Linked DNA regions of Homo sapiens: regions 1, 2, 4, 5, 6 and 7 are each linked to region 3. Evidence: promoter capture Hi-C in 16 types of primary human blood cells and fetal thymus (Javierre and others, 2016). All regions are on one chromosome and are shown on one strand. The core of a region is centred on a gene start or on the middle of the fragment in contact, and the rest is flanking DNA. Distances in the headings are between cores, read along the strand shown.

Region 1 (2,700 bases), core at 122-2,621, 580 kb before region 3:
CCTCTTCTCTTGACTCAGAACACTTATTATCATAGCTAATTTGGAACTCAAAATGAGACAGACAGTAGAGGGTAGTAGTTAAAAGCCTAGTTTCCAAAGTTAGATTATGGGTTCGAATCCTGACTCTGCCACTGTACTAGCTGCATAAACCTCAGGGACAAGACCAACATCTTTGTGCCTTCATTTCCTCATTTGTAAATGGGAGTTATAAAAGTTCCACCTGATCAAATGTTAGAGAATTGGATACATTTATACATGGGGTGCCCTTAGAAAAGTGGGATGTAGCCAGGGCTTAGCACAAATTAACTGACATCCTCACACATTATCCTGTAACTATTTGTGTAATATTTTTCTCATATTGTCGAGTCAGATGTTCTTGCATGTGTACGTTGAGGTTCTATTGAGAATGTCACCTCTTGAGGGCAGAATCTGTGTCCTTCAGGTCTCTGCATCCTCTGTGGTGCCCAGCAGTGTGGCATGCCAAGTATACCCATCCACTCACTCCTTAGTTCCTATCATGTGCCAATCACACTAATAGGTCTTCCCTTAGTTGGGGTCTGGGGATCAGGTGGGAACTAGACAAATACGCTTAATAAATATTTAATGAACAAAAGACTGACTGTTCTTTAATTCCCTAGTTTGAGCAACTAGGAAATCCGTGCCTCATTTGGACAAACACTGACAAGTGGTACAAAAGCAGGAAGAAAAAAATCAAAGGGAAATCATCTTATCTCTTCTCTTCTCATGCTCTTTGCAAACATCAGAACAGGTTTGAACTTAGAATACAGAGAAGGAAATAACTATTCTCAGCAGGTGATCCTTTCTACCTGAGTTCACAATCAGGACTTTATCCTTCACAAATAACTCAGTCCATCTTTTCCTCTGGGTCCTCATGCTCTGTGACGTAGGGACTGAACCTAGCCATAGGTTTCTTTTTGCATAAACAAAATAAGTCCATTTGGGGGTAAAATGATTTTCCATAGGCAATTCATAGCAAAAATAGATGAGAAATACATCTTTGGAAATCAATTATTATCATTTTCCCCTTCTACCAGTAAATCATTATCTTTCCTTTTTGTTCATTTTCTGCTGTTCTAAAATGGGAGTAAAAATCCATGATTGCAGCAGCAGAAAAGAGGGCTTTTGCTCATGGTGAGGCTCAGCTTTGCAGCAAGCAAAGGTCTCCTCCCCATCACTTACCAAAGGCCAGCAAGGACGCCCACAGCAGCATGGAAGCCTGCTCCAGGATTGGAGAAGGAGTTCTGAGGAGACAAGCCAGGTCAGCCCAGATTGCCAAAGCAGCACTTGCCTACACCAGCACCAGCAGTGAGCTCAGTAAGCTTCTTCTCTGCATAAAGCTGATTGAGATAATGAAGTGAAAGGGGGAAGTAGAGGAATCTTTCTGAAAACACCAAACAGCAATGTGGACCAGTGTGAGAGAATCCAGACCACAAAAATCAAAATTTAATAGAATTAAGTACTGCTGTGACATCCTGGGGTGAATCACTTCTCAAGGCTAAAGCTACTCTAGTTTCAGAACTCTCTAGGCTCTGTCTTTCAAGGAAATCACAACCTATTCTCTCTGCTACTAGAGATGAGGTGAGATTGCAGGCCTATTGAAATCCACATAATCTAAGGATGTCCCTGAATATCCCCAGAGATGAAGAATTTCTCATTCAACACAGAAAAGGCCTCCTCTGACCGCTGATACCTCTACTGGAACACCTCCAGCAGGCCGTCTGTAGACCTGATGAAACATCTCAATCACAAGACAACTCTCACCTTGTCTGATATATATGAAAATATCCTGACTCATCAGTCCAGGGGGAAACCACAACTTTTGATCTGAGTAGAAGGCAAGCTGAGGAGTAAATTATAGCCCCATCATGCTCTTCCTAGATAATAGGCCATAACATTTTTACTTAATGTCCTAGAATCCAAAATTTGCTACAGGAATGTCTTGGCAAATATATATTGATTGAAATACATATGCCTGGTATCTGGTGGCAGAGAGAAGAAGTTGTGATTTCCTTGAAAGACAAGAGGCTAGAGAGTTCTGAAAATATGATGGCTTTAGCCTTGAGAAGCGATTCACGTCAGGAAGTCAGAGTGGGTATTTAAATAATTCTATTAAATTTTGATTTTTGCCATTTGGATTCTTTCACACTGGGCAACATGCTGTTTGGTGTTTTGAGAAACACCTAATGCTCTCCCTACCCATAACAAACCTGCACACTCTGCTCATGTATCCCAGAACTTAAAAAAAAAATTAAGAAAAAAATGGAAAAATCCGTAGTGACGTTTTTTGGTACGTATAATATTTTGGTATGTATAACTCTTTAAAACTTTTTTATGCTATTATCTTGTGTATATGTATGTGTATATATATATATATATATATATATATATATATATATATATATAAAATGTTAATGGCAAAAAAAAAGAAACACCATGGTGCTTCAGGTATGGTGCCAGGTGCTGGAAGTACAGTGTTAATCAAGACTTGGAAAGCTTTCATTCTGGTGGAGAAGACAGCAAGTCAACAGGAAATTACATAGAAGTGAATTGTATGTAATTTCTGAGAGTCCACTAAGAGGGAAATCTGACCCAGTTCTGGGGATGCATAAGAGGCTTCCCTGAGGAAGTAACATCCAAGCTGAAAGAATATCATTCTAGGACTGAGAGATGAGCATGCAC
Region 2 (2,700 bases), core at 25-2,524, 880 kb after region 3:
TTTTTCAGGTGAGGGATAATCGAGTTTTTTGCACTTTTGCATAATTACAAATAAACTTTCATGAATATTTACATGCAGATTTTTGTGTGAACATACATAATTATTTCAAGTGGATAAAAAACTTACAGCAAGCTTGCTGTGTCATGTGGTAAGCATATGTTTAAATTTATAAGAAATTTCCAAACTCTTTTCTAATGTGACTTTTCATTCCCACCAGCAATAAGTAAGAGTTTCAATTGCTCTGTATCCTTCTCAGACCTTAGCATTGTAGATGCATATTAAGTTTTTAAAAATGGACAAACTCTTTTGCATAAAGGTTATACCATTTGACATTCCCACCAGCAGTGCACAAGAGTTTCAGTTTTTCCAAATCTTTGTCAGCACTTGGTATGGGTAATCTATTTTAATTTAAATTTTAGCTGTTCTAATAAATATATAATGGCATCTCACTGTAGTTTTAGTTTCCATTTCCTTAAAGATGAATTATGTTGAGTGTATTTTTATGTGCTTATTTGACATCCATGTATCATCTTTTTGCCCATTTTAAACATTTAATTGGTTGTTCTGCAATTATTGAATTTTGAGTGTTCTTTATAAATTCTGGATACAGGATCTTTTTGTTTTTTGAGACAGAGTCTTACTCTATCACCCAGGCTGGAGTGCAATGGCGCAATCTCAGCTCACTGCAAACTCCGCCTCCTGGGTTCAAGTGATTCTCCTGCCTCAGCCTCCCGAGTAGCTGGGATTACAGGTGCCCACCACCGTGCCCGGCTATTTTTTTTTTTTTTTTTTTTTTTTTTAGTAGAGATGGGGTTTCACCATGTTGGCCAGGCTGGTCTCAAACTCCTGACCTCAGGTGATCCACCCGCCAGGGCCTCCCAAAGTGCTGGGATTACAGGTGTGAGCCACCGTGCCTGGCCTGGATACAGGGTCTTCAGCAGCTGTGTGACTAACAAATATTAAGCCCCAATCTATGGTTTGCCTTTCAATGCTCTTAATGGTACCTTTTGAAGAACAGAAGTTCTTCATTTTGATGAAGTTCAAATTATTAAGCATTTATGTTATGTAGATTGTGCTTTTGGTGTGATATCTAAATCTTTAATCTTTGCCTACACCAAGATCACACAGATTTTCTCCCATGTTTTCTTGTAGAAGTTTTATGGTTTTAGCTGTTTATGAAAAGCCAATGATCTGTTTGGAGTTTATTTTTGTATAAAGAGTGAGGAATGGCTCAGATTCATTTTTTTAAGTATGGATATCTAATTGTTGTTGTAGCTTTTTTTTTAGTCTTTTCTCCACTGAACTGTGTTGTACTTTTGTAGAAATCAATAGACTGTAAATGTGCAAGCCTAGTTTTGGCTCTCTAGTTTTCCATTGGGCTTTATGCTTATTCTTTCTCCAATAACACAAAATTGTGTTATTATTTCTATACCTTTTAAAATATTTCTAAATCATTGCCCTATGGGACAAAATATACATCTTTAATTATTCAGTATCTACTTTCAAATAATACTGCGCTGCTTCACATGTTGTACAGGATCTTCTAACAGTGTACTCCTAATTCTTCCCTCTTGTATTTTGTGCAATTGTTGTCATATAGTTTACTTTTAAATTTGTATAAACATCATATAATACATTGATAAAGTATTTTCGCTTGAGACAAGGGATTGACAAACTAAAGGAGATAGTGGGACTGTAATGAATGAGAAACAGATGTTTATTGTGATCATCTGTTGATATTCTGAATTTGTTTATCCAGCAATTATTCTATCCTAATTTGGTGGAGAGAGGAGCCTGTGAACTGCAGCTTTCAGGTAACTTACAATCTGATTGAAGAGGCTGTATCACATATTCTTCAATTAAATGCTGCTTAGACCAGTTGGCTTGAATTGGTCCTTTTTACTTCTCTATGTTTTTTTTTTGGCCTTAATAACCTGGATGGAGAAAAAAAACATGCAGTCTGAGATGCAGTCGATGAGTGGCCCCTCCACTGTTTGCAGTCACTATGGCCTTCTGAAGTGTATGTATCATCTTCTCATAAAATTATTTTGTTCCCACCCTTCTAATACATTGGTCTGCCTTGGATCATACTCCTGAAGTGAATATCTGACCTGAGAAATACACTCCCACTTAGCAAGGTCACATACGCATATTTCTCAAATCTTGGCCTCCACTCTTACAGAGATAGCAGGCAGTGCAACCAACACTGAGACCTGGGGAAGAGCACCAAGTAGTGGCAGGACACGGGTAGGAGGGTGTGGTGGAAGGTCAAGAGTAGGGGTTTACATGGACTTAACTGCACTGGACTATGGTAGGTGCAGACGTGGTGGGACTGGCTAGGGAAATGTGTCCTCAAAGTATTTATTGTCTGTCTACTTTCAAAGACATTAGTCAGAATGACTTTTCCGACTCTGGGCAAGCTTTCTGCTTTAGACTTGTAGTATAAATAAGGAGCTCTTTTTTGGGCTCTGTGGGCACAACAATATGCGCCTCTGCCTTGAAAAGCCCATGTTCTCTTAACTGTGTATCTAGAATACATGTTTCCTAAGAGGGAGGTTCCTCAGTTCTGTGAGATGAACGTGTACTAAATATCAATGTCTTCCACTCTATATCCTGTTCAATGGCTCCAGTCCGGCTTTCTGATAGAAAACAAAAAATATCACCCCCTTGGAGAGTTGACTTTGTTCCATGCAGTTCCCA
Region 3 (2,700 bases), core at 152-2,651:
CTCTCCAGCTGATTTAGAAGAGGACACAGAGGGAGACAGACATATGGCCATTTCTATAATTATAAACTCTGCTACATGCTGAGAGGATGGCTTCTCAAAGCCAGTTAGTGTACAAGCAGTGGAGGTTGGGACTGCCCTACTTCTCCTGCCTAGGGTCACACAGTCTGGCAGATCTGGAAAGACTTCCCTGAGAAAGTGACCTTGGAACTGATACCTTAGTGGAAATAACTAGGCATTGGGAGGGGGTGAGGTGAGGAGAAGGTCAAGAGCTTTCATGTAGAGGGAACTTTGTGCAGAGACCTTAGTCAGGAAGAGGTTTTGCATAGTGGAGGAACTGAAAGCTAACAGCCAGGCTACAGTACAGAGCAAATGATGCTGGGGTGTGAGGTGATGTCAAAAGGTAGACACCAGGGCTAGAGGGCGCATAATCTTGCAGGCCGTGCTAATGATTTTGTTTTCTACCCAAGAATGCTACTTCAGGAGATCAGTCAAAAGGTTAGGGTGATGGTGACGGTGGAAATATAGAAAAAGGAATTTATTCAAGAGGTATTCAAAAAGAAGTGAAATAGAGATGAGTTGGAGATAGATTGGATAAAAAGAGTGAGGGAGAGGGAGGTGTCAGGCTGCAGCCCAGGTTCTGAGTTGCCAAAGAGGAGTCTTTTCCTCCAGGTGAGCTAAGGCTTAGAACCACGATTTTTGGTCACTTTTTCTTATTTTCAGTGTGAGAAGTGGCGAGTTGGCTGTCCAGGTACACACTGTCATCTTACACTTACTGTTTAAGACAGAGGCGCATATTTGGAAAGTGAATGAGTCAGGAGCCAGAGGAGAAGGTATGCCGGCAGAGCCTAGGGCGGAGAGGAGGAAGAGAGTCTGGGGGCGCGTCCCCAAAAAGGAGACAGGGAAGACAGAGCAGAGGCCGGGGAGGGGAGAGCAAGGACCATGACAGGAGGAAAGAGAGGCTAGGGAACACTGAGGTGGAGGAATCCTGGGATATGACAGTTGTAAAGAATTGTAGCCAACCTAATCCAGTTCTCTCAATGTGCAACTGAGGAAATTAATTTTCATGCGTTTACTTTATTGTAAATGTGGTACTTGCACTTGAGAAATTTTGGAAAACATAAAGATGTAAAGCAAATTAAGATCACTCATAGTCTTTCCACCTAGAGACATGTACTGCTAAAGCAAGGACTTTGATCCTTTTTTCCCTTTGCATTTTTACCATGGTTGGAATTGTAACACAGACACAACCTTATGTCCTGCTTCCAAAACATAAATAATGGTTGTAAAGCGTCCCACACGTTGACCCAAAGTCTCCTTTGAAACAGGAAATTGAGACACGCCGGTTGTGAAACCTACTGAAGTGAGCGGCGGCGCCAGGATTCCTGGGACCCCGACCTCTTTGCAGCTCGCACAGCTAAGGGCGAGGGCGCCCTTCGGCAGAAGCAGCAAACCGCCGGCAAGCCCAGCGAGGAGGGCTGCCGGGGTCTGGGCTTGGGAATTGGCTGGCACCCAGCGGAAAGGGACGTGAGCTGAGCGGCGGGGGAGAAGAGTGCGCAGGTCAGAGGGCGGCGCGCAGCGGCGCTCCGCGAGGTCCCCACGCCGGGCGATATGGGGTGCCTGCTGTTTCTGCTGCTCTGGGCGCTCCTCCAGGCTTGGGGAAGCGCTGAAGGTGGGTGGAACGAGGGCGCTTGAGTGCACTCGCGGGAGGGCGGAGAGAGGGAGCTGGGTAGGGACGGGGAGGGCAACGCCTGATGGGGACTGGTGAGACCCGGGACGCACTGGCGCGATCTAGGTAGAAAACTCGCTGCTCCCTGGCTCCGGGGAGAGGCAGCGCGGCACAGAGTTCGCTGGCATCAGCCGCCTCCTGAAGCTCATCTCCTCTTGTTTCTTTCTTCCTTCTCTTTATGCTGGCTGCTCTCCCGGCCACTTGCTACACGCCTCCAATCTTCATTCTCTCCCAGTCCCGCAAAGGCTTTTCCCCCTCCGCTGCCTCCAGATCTCGTCCTTCGCCAATAGCAGCTGGACGCGCACCGACGGCTTGGCGTGGCTGGGGGAGCTGCAGACGCACAGCTGGAGCAACGACTCGGACACCGTCCGCTCTCTGAAGCCTTGGTCCCAGGGCACGTTCAGCGACCAGCAGTGGGAGACGCTGCAGCATATATTTCGGGTTTATCGAAGCAGCTTCACCAGGGACGTGAAGGAATTCGCCAAAATGCTACGCTTATCCTGTGAGCTGAGGGATAGGATCCTGGGCCGGTACCCAAGGGGAGAGAATGGCCACAGAAACTCAACTGGGAGACTGTGGCACCACCTGATGAGATTCTCTGCTCTGTCCACCCTCTTCTGATTTCCCTTCTACCTGGAGATGTCCCAGGCTTTGACTCCTCAAAGTGTCCCTCGTTCCTGCCTACTCCAGGTCACTTACTTTCCTTTCCCTGAAGTCTGGGTCCCCATTATAACCTGCACATCAATTTCTTCTCTTTCATCTCTCCCAGTCTTTTAAACCCTTCTTTGATCTTTCTCCATTCCTCTCCACAGATCCCTTGGAGCTCCAGGTGTCCGCTGGCTGTGAGGTGCACCCTGGGAACGCCTCAAATAACTTCTTCCATGTAGCATTTCAAGGAAAAGATATCCTGAGTTTCCAAGGAACTTCTTGGGAGCCAACCCAAGAGGCCCCACTTTGGGTAAACTTGGCCATTC
Region 4 (2,700 bases), core at 49-2,548, 800 kb after region 3:
ACTGCTCTGGCTAGAACTTCCAGTGCTATGTTGAACCAGGAGTAGTGAGAGTAGGCAACTTTGTCTTGTTCTGGTTCTCAAGAGGTATGATTTCAGCTTTTGCCTATTTGTGATATGATGTTGGCTGTGGTTTTGTCATAGATGTCTCATTTTGAGGTATGTTCCTTTGATACCTAGTTTGTTGAGGGTTTTTAACATGAAAGAATGTTGAATTTATTGAAACCTTTTCTGCATCTATTTAGATAATCACGTGATTTTTGTTTTTAGTTCTGTTTATGTGATAAATCACATTTACCAATTTGCGTATGTTGAACCAACTTTGCATTCCAGGGGTAAAGCTTACTTGATCATGGTGGCTTAGCTTTTGCTGTGCTGCTGGATTTAGTTTGCTAGTATTTTTTTTTGAGGACTTTTGCATCAATATTTATCAGGCATATTGTCCTGAATTTGTTTTTCCTTTGTGTTTCTGTCAGGTTTTGGTATCAGAATAATGCTGACCTCATAGAATGATTCAGGGCAGAGTCTCCGCTCCTCAATATTTTGGAATAATTTTGGTAGGATTGGTATCAGCTCCTCCTTATCTATCAGGTAGAATTCAGATGTGAATCTGTCTGATCCATGGCTTTTGTTGGTTTGTAGGTATTTTATTATGGATTCAATTTCAGAACTTGTTATTGATCTGTTTAGGTATTCAATGTCTTCCTGGTTCAATCTTGGCAGGTTGTATGTTTTCAGGAATTTATCTGTTTCTTCTAGATTTTCTAGTTTTTCAGCATAGAAATTGTTCATAATGGTCTTTGAGAGTTTTTGTATTTCTGTGGGTTCCATGGTAATGTCCCCTTTGTCATTTCTAATTGTATTTATTTGGATCTTCTCCTGTTTTTTTTTTTTTTTTTGTATATTAATCTGGCTAGTGGTCTATATATCTTATTCTTTCAAAAAACCAATTTTTAGTTTTCTTAATTATTTTTGTGAATTTTCACATCTCAATTTTATTTGGTTCAACTTAGATTTTGATTATTATTTTTCTTCTGCTAGTTTGGGGGTTGGTTTCCTTTTGTTTTTTCTAGTTCCTGTAAATGTGATGTTAGGTATAAATTTAAGATATTTCTGACTTTTTGATGTAGGCCTTTAGTGCTATAAACTTTTCTCTTAACACTGCTTTAGCTGTGTCCCAGAGACTCTGATATATTGTATTTTTGTTTTCATTAGTTTCAAAGATTTCTTGATTTCTGCATTAATTTAATTTATTACCCAAAAGTCATTCAGGAGTAAGTTGTTTAATTTCCAAATACTTCTATGATTTTCAGAGATCTTCTTGGTATTGATTTGTATTTTTGTTGCACTGTGATCTGAGAGTGTGGTTGATATAATTTCTGTTTTTTGAATTTCCTGAGCATTGCTTTATGGCCAAGCATGTGGCCAAGCATGTGGCACAGAGTATGTGCCATGTGCAGATGAGAAGAATGTATATTCTGTTGTTGAGTGGAATGTTCCTTATATGTCTGTTAGGTCAATTTAGTCAAGTGTGAAATTTTGTTCCTGAATATCTTTGTTAGTTTTCTCCCTCAATGATTTATCTAACAATGTTAGTAGGGTGTTGTATTCTCCCACTATTATTGTGAGGTTAGCTAGTTCTCTTCATAGGTCTCTAAGAACTTGTTTTATGAATCTGGTTGTGCCAGTGCTGAATGCACACATCTTTAGGATAGTTAAGTCTTGTTTGTAGAATTGAACTTTTTATCATTATGTGATGCCCTTCTTCATCCTCTTTGATAGCTTTTGGTTTAAGGTCTGTTTTTTTTTTCCTGAAATAAAAGAGCAACCCCTGCTCTATTTTGTTTGTTTTCCATTTGCTTTATAGATATTCCTCCATCCATTTAATTTAAGCCTGTGTCTTTACATGTAAGGTGGGTCTCTTGAAGACAGCATGTAATTGAGTCTTGCTTCTTTATCCAACTTACCATTCTGTGCCTTTTAAGTGGAGTGGTTAGCCTGCTTATGTTCAAGGTTAATATTGATATGTAAGGATTTGATCCTGTCATAGTGTTATTAGCTGGTTGTTATGTAGACTTGATTGTATAGTTGCATATTGTGTCAGTGGAATATTTACTTAAGTGTGTTGTTTTGTGGCAGGTAGCAGCCTTTTGTTTCCATGTTCAGCACTCCCTGAAGGACCTCTTATAAGGCAGGCCTAATGGTAACAAATTCGCTTAGTGTTTGTTTGTCTGAAAAGGATTATGTTTCTTTTTCACTTACAAAGCTTGGTTCGGCTGGATATGAAATCATGGTTAGAATTTCTTTTGTTTAAGAATGCTGAATGTAGGCCTTTAATCTTTTCTGGCTTGAAAAATTTCTGCTGAAAGGTCCACTGTTAGTGTGATAAGGGTTCCCTTTGTACATGATCTGCCTCTTCTCTTTTGCTGCCTTTCATATGTTTTATTTACCTTGATCTTGGAGAATTGGATAACTATGTGTCTTAGGGATTGTCATCTTGTGTAATATCTTGCTGGGGTACTCTGAATTTCCTGAATTTACATGTCAACCTCTCTAGCAAGGTCAGGTAAATTTTCAGGGACAATATCTTCAAATATGTTCTCCAAGTTGCTTGGTCTCTCTCCCTCTCTTTCTGTGATGCAAATCAGTTGTAGGTTTGGTCTCTTTACATAAACTCATATTTCTTGAAGTTTCGTTCATATT
Region 5 (2,700 bases), core at 115-2,614, 650 kb after region 3:
ATTTGACAATTCAGAGTTATGATACTTTGTAGTGCACCCACTGTTCTTCACAGGAAAAAAAAATTGCAGTACAAAGGGTTTATCAGGCCCCCTATCATTCCAGAGTTTCAGTGCTGTTCCAGAATGTTCAAGGTTTCAGTCATGATATGAACCAACTATCCATAAATAATGCAAAAAGCATGAGTAATCATGAATTTAATAATCAAGGTAAGGCAGCTCAGTTATTATACTCAAGAGAGCAACTAGTATGAAACTCTTTCAAATTATTTGAATAAGGATTTACATATTCATAATGACTTTCTGCCTCTGTCAAGCTCCAGGTGTATCAGTTATTAATAACTGGGTGAATATGTAGGTACTATTTAAACAAAAACAATTTCACAGTAGACCCACCCCTATCCAAGAGATGAAGTCAAGTTCTGGTAGCAATAGACATCTCTACCAAGATCTCCTGCTCCTGCCACTCTGTGAACAGGAAAGGAGGGAGAAACTTTGGTGTTTTGCCTTTCCCAATTTATATTAAGATCCTTATTCAAGCGGCTACCGGTTTCTAATGACCTATATGTAAGTTAGCTTTATAAGAAAGTTCTGAGTTTGAAACTCCTTTCAGCAAGTATTTGTAAGTCAAAAAAGCGAAGAAGAGGCACCATTTACTGTCATTTCTCCTTGTGACTGAGATTACTTACTACAAAGAGGAACTGACCACTTTCTCTGACATCTGAAATAGAAAGCTACAAAGGCTGATAGGCGTGGCTTCAAAATTGTTTCATGATTACATAACTTCTTTCTAGTTAGGAATTAGGACAGTGTAAGAAGGCCATCTACAATCAAGATTGAGAGTGGCTCTAACAAGTGCCATTTTTCCTTGTTAGCTTTCATTTCTCAGCCCTTTACAAGATTAAAATAGTCTGCAGTTTAATCTCTCCAAAGCTTTACGGACAGTGATTCTGTCCTAAACAAGACAGTGACTCCAGGATTTCTGAAGACTATTGTGGAAGAAGCATCCATTAAGGTGAGATTTCTGGGAAGTTCTTTAGAGAAAGATCTAGGTATCTAGTTGGTAACCACACCATCTCAGTAGAGAATAATTGCCTGAGACCAGAAGTGTTGTTATCAATCATATTCAGAAAACTGAGAACTGAATGCTTTAACTGTCTAGGTAGCAAATGGATATCTTTTATTCTACCACAATTGGGGTATGAACCAAAAAAATGTATTTTGTCTACAGCAGGTTTTAAAAATTAATTCTTGGGTGTCTTTTGGCATAAATTGATATTTAGAGGAGATACTTGGTTTTCTTGGCTGGAGGATGACTTGGTGACTGGGTTTGGGCCTAAGTTAAAAGACAAGACAGTCAGATAAGAAAATTATTATGAAGTAATATTTAGTAAAAAATAAACCAGGATATAAATCTCTATTATATGATTTTATCTCTATTTTAAAAAGCATAGACATGTGCACACATTAATTTCTCAATTTTACAAGCATTTACTCAAAAATAATCTTTACATTTTCATGAATCAGTTTCATTTTATGCTTCATTTTACAACAAGTGTAAGAAGAAATAATTCTCTTTTTCAAATGGTCTATGCTTTACTCAGTCATAGATAACATTTTTTGTGGCAAGGTATAATGAAAAGACAGGGAGAATCAATTATATATTTCCTACTTTGGGATACATTTTGACTTTTTTATGGCTTTGTACATATGAATGTTTTCTAATTACTCCATGAGTACTTGAGAAGAGTTTATAAACGTTGGATTCCAAATTCTATTTAAGTAAGATAAAGTTTCTTAAGTAAGCTTGTTAATTATGTTTGAAAAATCTAAATCTAAATCTAAGCTATTTTTTACCTTGTTCTTTCAGTAACTGAGAGATGTGGTGAAATCTCCAACTCTAATAGTGATTTTGTTAATTTCTCATTGTAGTTCTTTTGATTTCTACCATATATTTTTACATAGAATATGTATATCTAAGTATATATGTTATGTGTGTGTTTAGAGAGAAGAAAAAACTTCTATATGCTACTTTATAAAGTAATAACAGATTATATTTATAATATAATTTAAATTATTATATCTTTTTCCAAGTTGCATACTTTACCATTATGTAGTGAAACTATGTACTGATACTTATTGACTTAAGCCTATTTTAAGCTACACTATTTTTCCTAAAAAGTCTTTCTTTAAGTTAGAGTTTGAAGAATATAACTTTTCCAGCTCTTTCTCAAACTTAAGTGAACTTATGCTTTATTTGTACTTTGTCAACAACATATGACTGGATTTATTTTTAATCCAAATTGAAAATTTTTCCTCCTAGTTGATGAGTTTAGTCCAGATATGCAAATTCTATAAAGGTATATATTTTAACTTGGTTTTGCCATCTTACTTTGTTTCAATTTATAGCACTTATTCTGTGCTTTCTTCTTCTCCTTTCTTGTCAAGTTTCTTATTTTTAAAAAATCTATATTCTCCTTAAAGACAAGCCCCTTAGCAAACTCTCACATCTTCTGGTCCCCCAAACATACAACTTCACCTGTTAAGAGTATGTTCATATAGTTCCTGTTTTCTTTTATTTGACTCTGGCTTTACTTATTTTTAAGATAGTAAAAACACTAATTAAAGTATTTGCTTGATCTTTCTTCCCTTTTGGCCTCCAACATTTCTTAGATTTATTTCTTTTCATAATGAGTAGTTCTT
Region 6 (2,700 bases), core at 120-2,619, 850 kb after region 3:
TTAACTAGACGTTGGTTCTTACGTGTTGTTCCTGATGTACGTTATCTCATTCTTTCTTCATAACCATCAGGAGGATGCTAATTCTGCCCCAATTCACAGAGAAGAAAATAGAGGTACAGAAAGGTTAAAAATCTTCCTCAAGCTTTCAAAGAAAATTAGAGTCATGATTCATATCCAGTCTTATTTAAACCTAAAACGTGAAAAATTAATGATTATATATGGCTTTAGATTAGGAGTTTATATATGCCATGTCAGTAATTTATTTATTAGTCACGTAACAGTTACATAGCCCACGCTTTGCAAACCTTCTGATAACAAATGTGGCCAGTGGTGATCAGAGTGTGTTCTAATAAGTAAACCACCCTCCAGAAGTAGAATCCTTTCATTCGCCTCTCTAACAGAGTGCATTTTCTATATTAAATATCTGAATGACAGAAGTGGTAGAACTATGGAAATTAAACTAATATTAATAAATAACAAAAAAGGTTAAAAATAGTCAAAATAAAGGAAGTTATACTTCCTTGCCCTTGGTAAAGAGTATTTTTAAAAAATCACTTACTTGGTAATGCCAAGGTAAGTTCTTCAATATTTCTAAATACATTTGAGAACCTTGAAGGATTCTAGCTGGCTGATGCAGACTACAAAACAGCAGAATTCTGCATCTGGAATTGTGGATTTTAAAGAATCTTTCTAGCAAAGTGATGATCAAAACATCTAAAGCAACATAAGGCTGGGTTTCCTGGAGCCTGAAGAGCTGCAGGAAAGAGAAAGAGTAATTTAATCAAGTAAAATGTATGTGATTAAATTTCTCACTATTAATTAAGTATATTCATTGAGACCCTACTAGTCTCTGTGTCTTTTGATATTTACAAGGTATGCGTTCATGAAGTGCTTCCTGACTCAAGAGGATTACTGTCTTTTGTTGATCCAGGTGTAGAGAGAGATTGTGGGGAAGTAGCCAGATGGAGGAAGATGAATACAAGAATATGTTCATTATCTTTATTCCAATTACCTTTCATCCTTTCACTTCGTTCATGACCACATTCCAGGTTTTATTTTAAAATATCGATGGTCTTTTCCAAATGAGAAGCTTTGACATATAGATTGCTTCCTTTGCTGGGATCACTTTCTCCAGTCTCTTCTTGAACCCAACTCTCCACAGGCCCCAGCCTAAATCCCTTCCTAGAGCAAGTCCTCACTGGCAACCACGTTTCAGATTAGGTGAGATCCTCCCATAGTTGGTTCTCTCTGGTCCTCCCTTTGTGAGCTTTCCTAGCTCCCTTTATTTTTCCTAATAGCATTTAAACAATTGGGGTGTGGGAGTAATTTTCTCCTTTTATATACCATAAGCTCAGATGGTAGGTAGCGTCTACCCCAGAGGAACAGAATACAAGAGGGGAAAAAGTCAGTTCATGCTATGTGCATCAATTCTTATTCCAGATTACCTTTTGCTCAGCAGTGATATGACCCTTGTAGTCACCTGCACTGAGGGTTCGGAAGCCTGTACCTGTGGTGAAGGGGCAGGAAACTTGGAGGAAAAGCAGAAGGATTAAATCATTATTTTTTACAGTTGCTTCTTACCCAAGCCCCAAGCTGTATTCTGACCCAGCAGCAGATACCTCCAGCCACCATGTACACATCCTGGAAGAGAAGCTTCCTATATTTAAGGATTCTCTATTTTGATTTTTTTTTGGTTTGTTTTCATTGTTGTAATTTTTAGCTAGCTTCAGAAAGCTGTATTTCCCTCCATAGTTTATGCAGGTGTTATTTGAAGAACAGAACCTGTGTCTTTTTGCCATCTTGGCACAGGTGGCTGTGGAAGGAGCCCTTGCTCAGTCATTGCAACCTAAGATCCATTTTCTTTGTGCCTTTTCAGTGACTAAAGTGGCATCTCCAAACAACTATGCTTTTATCACTCATATTTCTTTGAAAGGATTATGTGAGAATTTCTAAGTCCCACCTGCTAAAATATGAATCACAACCCTTGCTACAGCTGTACAAATGATTGTGCTGTATGTGAACTTCCCTGGAGCACAGGAATCCCAGGAGGATTATATGCCTTCATGGCCTCATGCACCTAAACACACTACGCAGCCATTTATTCTTGGGTGTCCACTATCGTCTGTAAATACAGTTGTCTGTCTAACTACTTTCCTAGTGACTCGCAGGTGAGTATAGTCTTGTTCCACTGATCATAGGGTTTCCCAAAGATTTTCTCTATGGTATACGCTCTATATTCATTGAGATTTAAAACAAACAGGCTATTCTTATCATTGATTTTTTTTTTTCTGTTCTGTACACCTAAAGCAAGAAACATAAATTGACATGAATCAGGAGCAGGGATGGGAGGGGAGATAATTGCTCTAAGAAAAAAAATTACATAGTGATTTAAAATATTATTCAACCAAAGATTACATTTCTCTCATCTAAATTCTACTCTGGTTATGGGACTGTTTTACTTAAATGAATTTGAGAAGATAATACTCCAAGGTACTCTCGTGAATAAGTGGCAGAAATGAATAGAGAAGTCTCTTTAATAAAAAGCTTCCCATACCAACTCGATCTAGGGTTTCTGTCAACAAGGTAAACAGAATATGAGACGGCAGTTAATCAGAACACACATACAAATCCCTGCAGAGACAGTGTAACAACAGTGACATAAATCGGATTTCTACTTCGTAAGCACTTACTAGGTGCTGG
Region 7 (2,718 bases), core at 1-2,500, 760 kb after region 3:
CACCATATCTCACCTCACAAACCTATTTAACATCTCCTTTCACTAGTTTCTGTAATTTAAATAGATTATCTGGAGAATATGACTAAGCAGTCAGCATCATGAGAACCTTACATTTTAAAAGGAAATGATAGAATAGGATTGGGAAAGGGTTTGACTGAGCACATGGAGTTCAGAGGACAGGAAGGATGTTCTCACTGCACAGGGGAGGAGTGATGAAAGCACTGAGGAGTGTGAGTCAGTGTTTGTGCCTTTGTTTCTCCTGCTGGCCTCCTGGAAGCCAGACTAGGCTAATGCAATAGAGATAGACTAAAATACACCTGAACCCTCAAGCAGGAGCTAAGAGCAAATAGTATTGAAACTGCTTCGGGTGTCCCCGATCATCTGCTCTGGGTTTATACATCTTCCTTTTTTCTGCATTAGTTGCAAATAAAATTGAATCCATTCCAGTCAAAGGAATAATCCCATCTAAAAAGACGAAACAGAAAGAAGTGTATCCTGCTACACCTGCATGCACCCCAAGCAACCGTCTCACAGCTAAAGGAGCAGAGGAGACTCTTGGACCTCAGGTAAGCTTCAGGAAGAGGAGCAGGCTTCAAGTCTCACAGTGGAAGCTCTGCTGTGGCTGTTCCACTCAATCTGTCCAGCAGGCAGTTATTTCTTCATATGTTTCCCATCAAGTTTCAGATTTATCAAATTACATAATAATTGATCATCTTTCTGCAAGGCAACAAGTTAAACGCTTTAGTAAACATAATGTAAATATACATAAAATAAATATAATATTTTCATCTCCAATAGAGAAGGATGTTAACTTGAGAGTCAGATAAAAAAACGTTTGCCTATGTTTACAAAAGCCTAGTTTCTTAACTGCAAGTCAGCATATCCCAAAACACAAGTAATTAAGGAATGATGTGTGTTACTTTCTCTGCTCCCTTTTTAAAAATGAAACCATCTATGCCATGTTCTTTCAATTGGCCTGGGGATGTACTTAAGTTTCCAAGAAAAACAATTTATATACAATAAATATATTACCTTGTAATGAAAATGTGCTCTGCTTCATTTGACACTGAAAGTAATTAACAAGAAAAATAAACTACTTGTAGAAAAGAAAAAAACCATCTGAAGAAGAGACTGGAACCAAAAGGAGTAAGATGTCCAAAGAGCAGACTCGGCCTTCCTGCTCTGCAGGAGCCAGCACGTCCACAGCCATGGGCCGTTCCCCACCTCCCCAGACCTCATCATCAGCTCCACCCAACACTTCCTCAACTGAGGTACACTCTTCCTGGTCCCCTTTTGATTCATTTTCTTCAACCCAAAATGTAGGAATCTGATTTCATCTTCTACTGAAAAATGACATCAATCATCAGCCAGTAAATCAAATGTATAGACTGAGAATTCACTGCATTTTAATCTTTTGCTTCCACAGGCATATTTGATGAACTTGACATTATCTCTGACTGCAGGAAGTTTTCTGTCCTGTGCTGTTTGGGGAAGAGACAGAGAACTGCGGAATCTGGAACTTTCAGCAACAGACTCACTGTCTACTGCCCCCATCTATTATACACCCATTCCCTTTGCTCACTAATTTGTTCAAGTTTCTCTGACATACACCATGCTCCTTTTTCCTTTAGGATTTTCACACACCATATTTCTTTCACCTTTAAACTCTTACCTGGCCAACCCTATCCACCCTCTGGATCCCAATATTGAGATCTTATCCTCAGGGAATCCTCACTTAGACCCCTGTAACAGGTTAAATCTTCATGGTGTTCTGTTTCCTAGGAACTTCTTTCTTTTCTACTGTTTATGACAACTGAAGTTAATAAGTGTTTATCTTTCCCACCTACTCAAAGTAGTTCCAAGATTAGGGCTAGTTTGTAATTCTGTGGACCACTGTAAACGAGGGCCTAGTTCAGTGTCTGCCTCATGGGAAGCTTCCAATAAATACCTTTGCTCAACGAAAAAATGAAAACCCAGTGGCTCACGCCTGTAATCCCAGCACTTTGGGAGGCCGAGGCAGGTGGATTGCCTGAGGTCAGGAGTTTGAGACTAGTCTGGCCAACATGGTGAAACACTATCTCTACTAAAAATACAAAAAAATTAGCTGGGTATGGTGGCTTACGCCTATAATCCCAGCTACTCAGGAGGCTGAGGCAGGGGAATTGCTTGAACCAGGGAGGTGGAGGTTGCAGTGAGCTGAGATCGCACCACTGCACTCCAGCCTGGGTGACAGAGCGAGACTCCATCTCAAAATAAAAAAGTAAAAAAAAAAAAAAAAAAGGAAACCATATTCTAAGATATGAACCACTACAGCTAAGCAAATGACAAATAAAGGTCATCTGACTCAGTCAAAGATACCTATTGTGAGGCCAAAAGGTTGTAAAAACAAAGGGAAGTGATGGAATAGGGAAGAGAGCTCAGGAGTTTGGGAAAATGTAGGCAGGCAGAAGACGATACACCAAGACTTACAAATGAAAGAAAGTAAATTACAATTAATAATTGCATGATTCTGATAATCCTTATAATGCTGTACTCATCTCAAATTTGGACAGGTCAGCCTTACTATATGCATGTATCAGCAATAGTCTAAAAACTAATTGAAACTCTAATGAGCTTTATTATTAAAAAAATGTTCTATATTTCTGATACACAATAAAGGGGATCAATTATGAAGGGCAACAAGTGATGAAACCACACCACCAACCTTAATTTGCTCTA

Evidence for each region. The method cuts DNA at HindIII sites, captures the fragments that hold promoters and counts their contacts. A CHiCAGO score of 5 or more calls a contact.
Region 1: the fragment with the promoter of FCRL4 here is called in contact with the fragment with the promoter of CD1D in region 3 in 1 of 17 cell types (total B cells); the score reaches 7.3 in total B cells.
Region 2: a contact is called between a fragment that was not itself captured here and the fragment with the promoter of CD1D in region 3, in 4 of 17 cell types (naive CD8 T cells, neutrophils, naive CD4 T cells and 1 more). The highest score is 7.2, in naive CD8 T cells.
Region 4: a contact is called between a fragment that was not itself captured here and the fragment with the promoter of CD1D in region 3, in 6 of 17 cell types (endothelial precursors, neutrophils, naive CD4 T cells and 3 more). The highest score is 8.9, in endothelial precursors.
Region 5: a fragment that was not itself captured here is called in contact with the fragment with the promoter of CD1D in region 3 in 2 of 17 cell types (naive CD4 T cells and monocytes); the score reaches 5.5 in naive CD4 T cells.
Region 6: a fragment that was not itself captured here is called in contact with the fragment with the promoter of CD1D in region 3 in 5 of 17 cell types (fetal thymus, naive CD8 T cells, total CD4 T cells and 2 more); the score reaches 10.6 in fetal thymus.
Region 7: a contact is called between a fragment that was not itself captured here and the fragment with the promoter of CD1D in region 3, in 1 of 17 cell types (neutrophils). The highest score is 6.1, in neutrophils.

Annotation. Positions count from the first base shown.
Region 1 is chr1:157,596,714-157,599,413 of GRCh38, forward strand. FCRL4 (Fc receptor like 4) reads right to left here and starts at 1,372. Exons shown (of 12, transcript NM_031282.3): 1 at 1,201-1,372. The coding sequence starts at 1,231. The HindIII fragment of the contact is 1,174 bases long and covers 1,339-2,512 here.
Region 2 is chr1:159,060,785-159,063,484 of GRCh38, forward strand. AIM2 (absent in melanoma 2) reads right to left here. Exons shown (of 6, transcript NM_004833.3): 6 at 1,700-1,934. The coding sequence ends at 1,908. Among named protein-coding and RNA genes, the nearest start is that of AIM2, 15 kb to the right of the region's middle. The HindIII fragment of the contact is 2,288 bases long and covers 131-2,418 here.
Region 3 is chr1:158,179,494-158,182,193 of GRCh38, forward strand. It overlaps CD1D (CD1d molecule), which reads left to right and starts at 1,402. Exons shown (of 6, transcript NM_001371762.2): 1 at 1,402-1,669; 2 at 1,962-2,228; 3 at 2,539-2,700. The coding sequence starts at 1,609. RefSeq lists a silencer at 411-460 and an enhancer at 1,873-1,932. The HindIII fragment of the contact is 7,344 bases long and covers 1-2,700 here.
Region 4 is chr1:158,983,150-158,985,849 of GRCh38, forward strand. It overlaps a transcript of PYHIN1 not described here. Among named protein-coding and RNA genes, the nearest start is that of PYDC5, 18 kb to the right of the region's middle. The HindIII fragment of the contact is 1,925 bases long and covers 337-2,261 here.
Region 5 is chr1:158,830,546-158,833,245 of GRCh38, forward strand. It overlaps MNDA (myeloid cell nuclear differentiation antigen), which reads left to right and starts at 806. Exons shown (of 7, transcript NM_002432.3): 1 at 806-1,012. It also overlaps a transcript of OR6N1 not described here. The HindIII fragment of the contact is 873 bases long and covers 929-1,801 here.
Region 6 is chr1:159,033,479-159,036,178 of GRCh38, forward strand. All of the region lies in intron 7 of IFI16 (interferon gamma inducible protein 16), which reads left to right. Among named protein-coding and RNA genes, the nearest start is that of IFI16, 25 kb to the left of the region's middle. The HindIII fragment of the contact is 563 bases long and covers 1,089-1,651 here.
Region 7 is chr1:158,937,977-158,940,694 of GRCh38, forward strand. PYHIN1 (pyrin and HIN domain family member 1) reads left to right here. Exons shown (of 9, transcript NM_152501.5): 3 at 421-566; 4 at 1,104-1,271. Among named protein-coding and RNA genes, the nearest start is that of PYHIN1, 7.8 kb to the left of the region's middle. RefSeq lists an enhancer at 321-1,520. The HindIII fragment of the contact is 1,363 bases long and covers 570-1,932 here.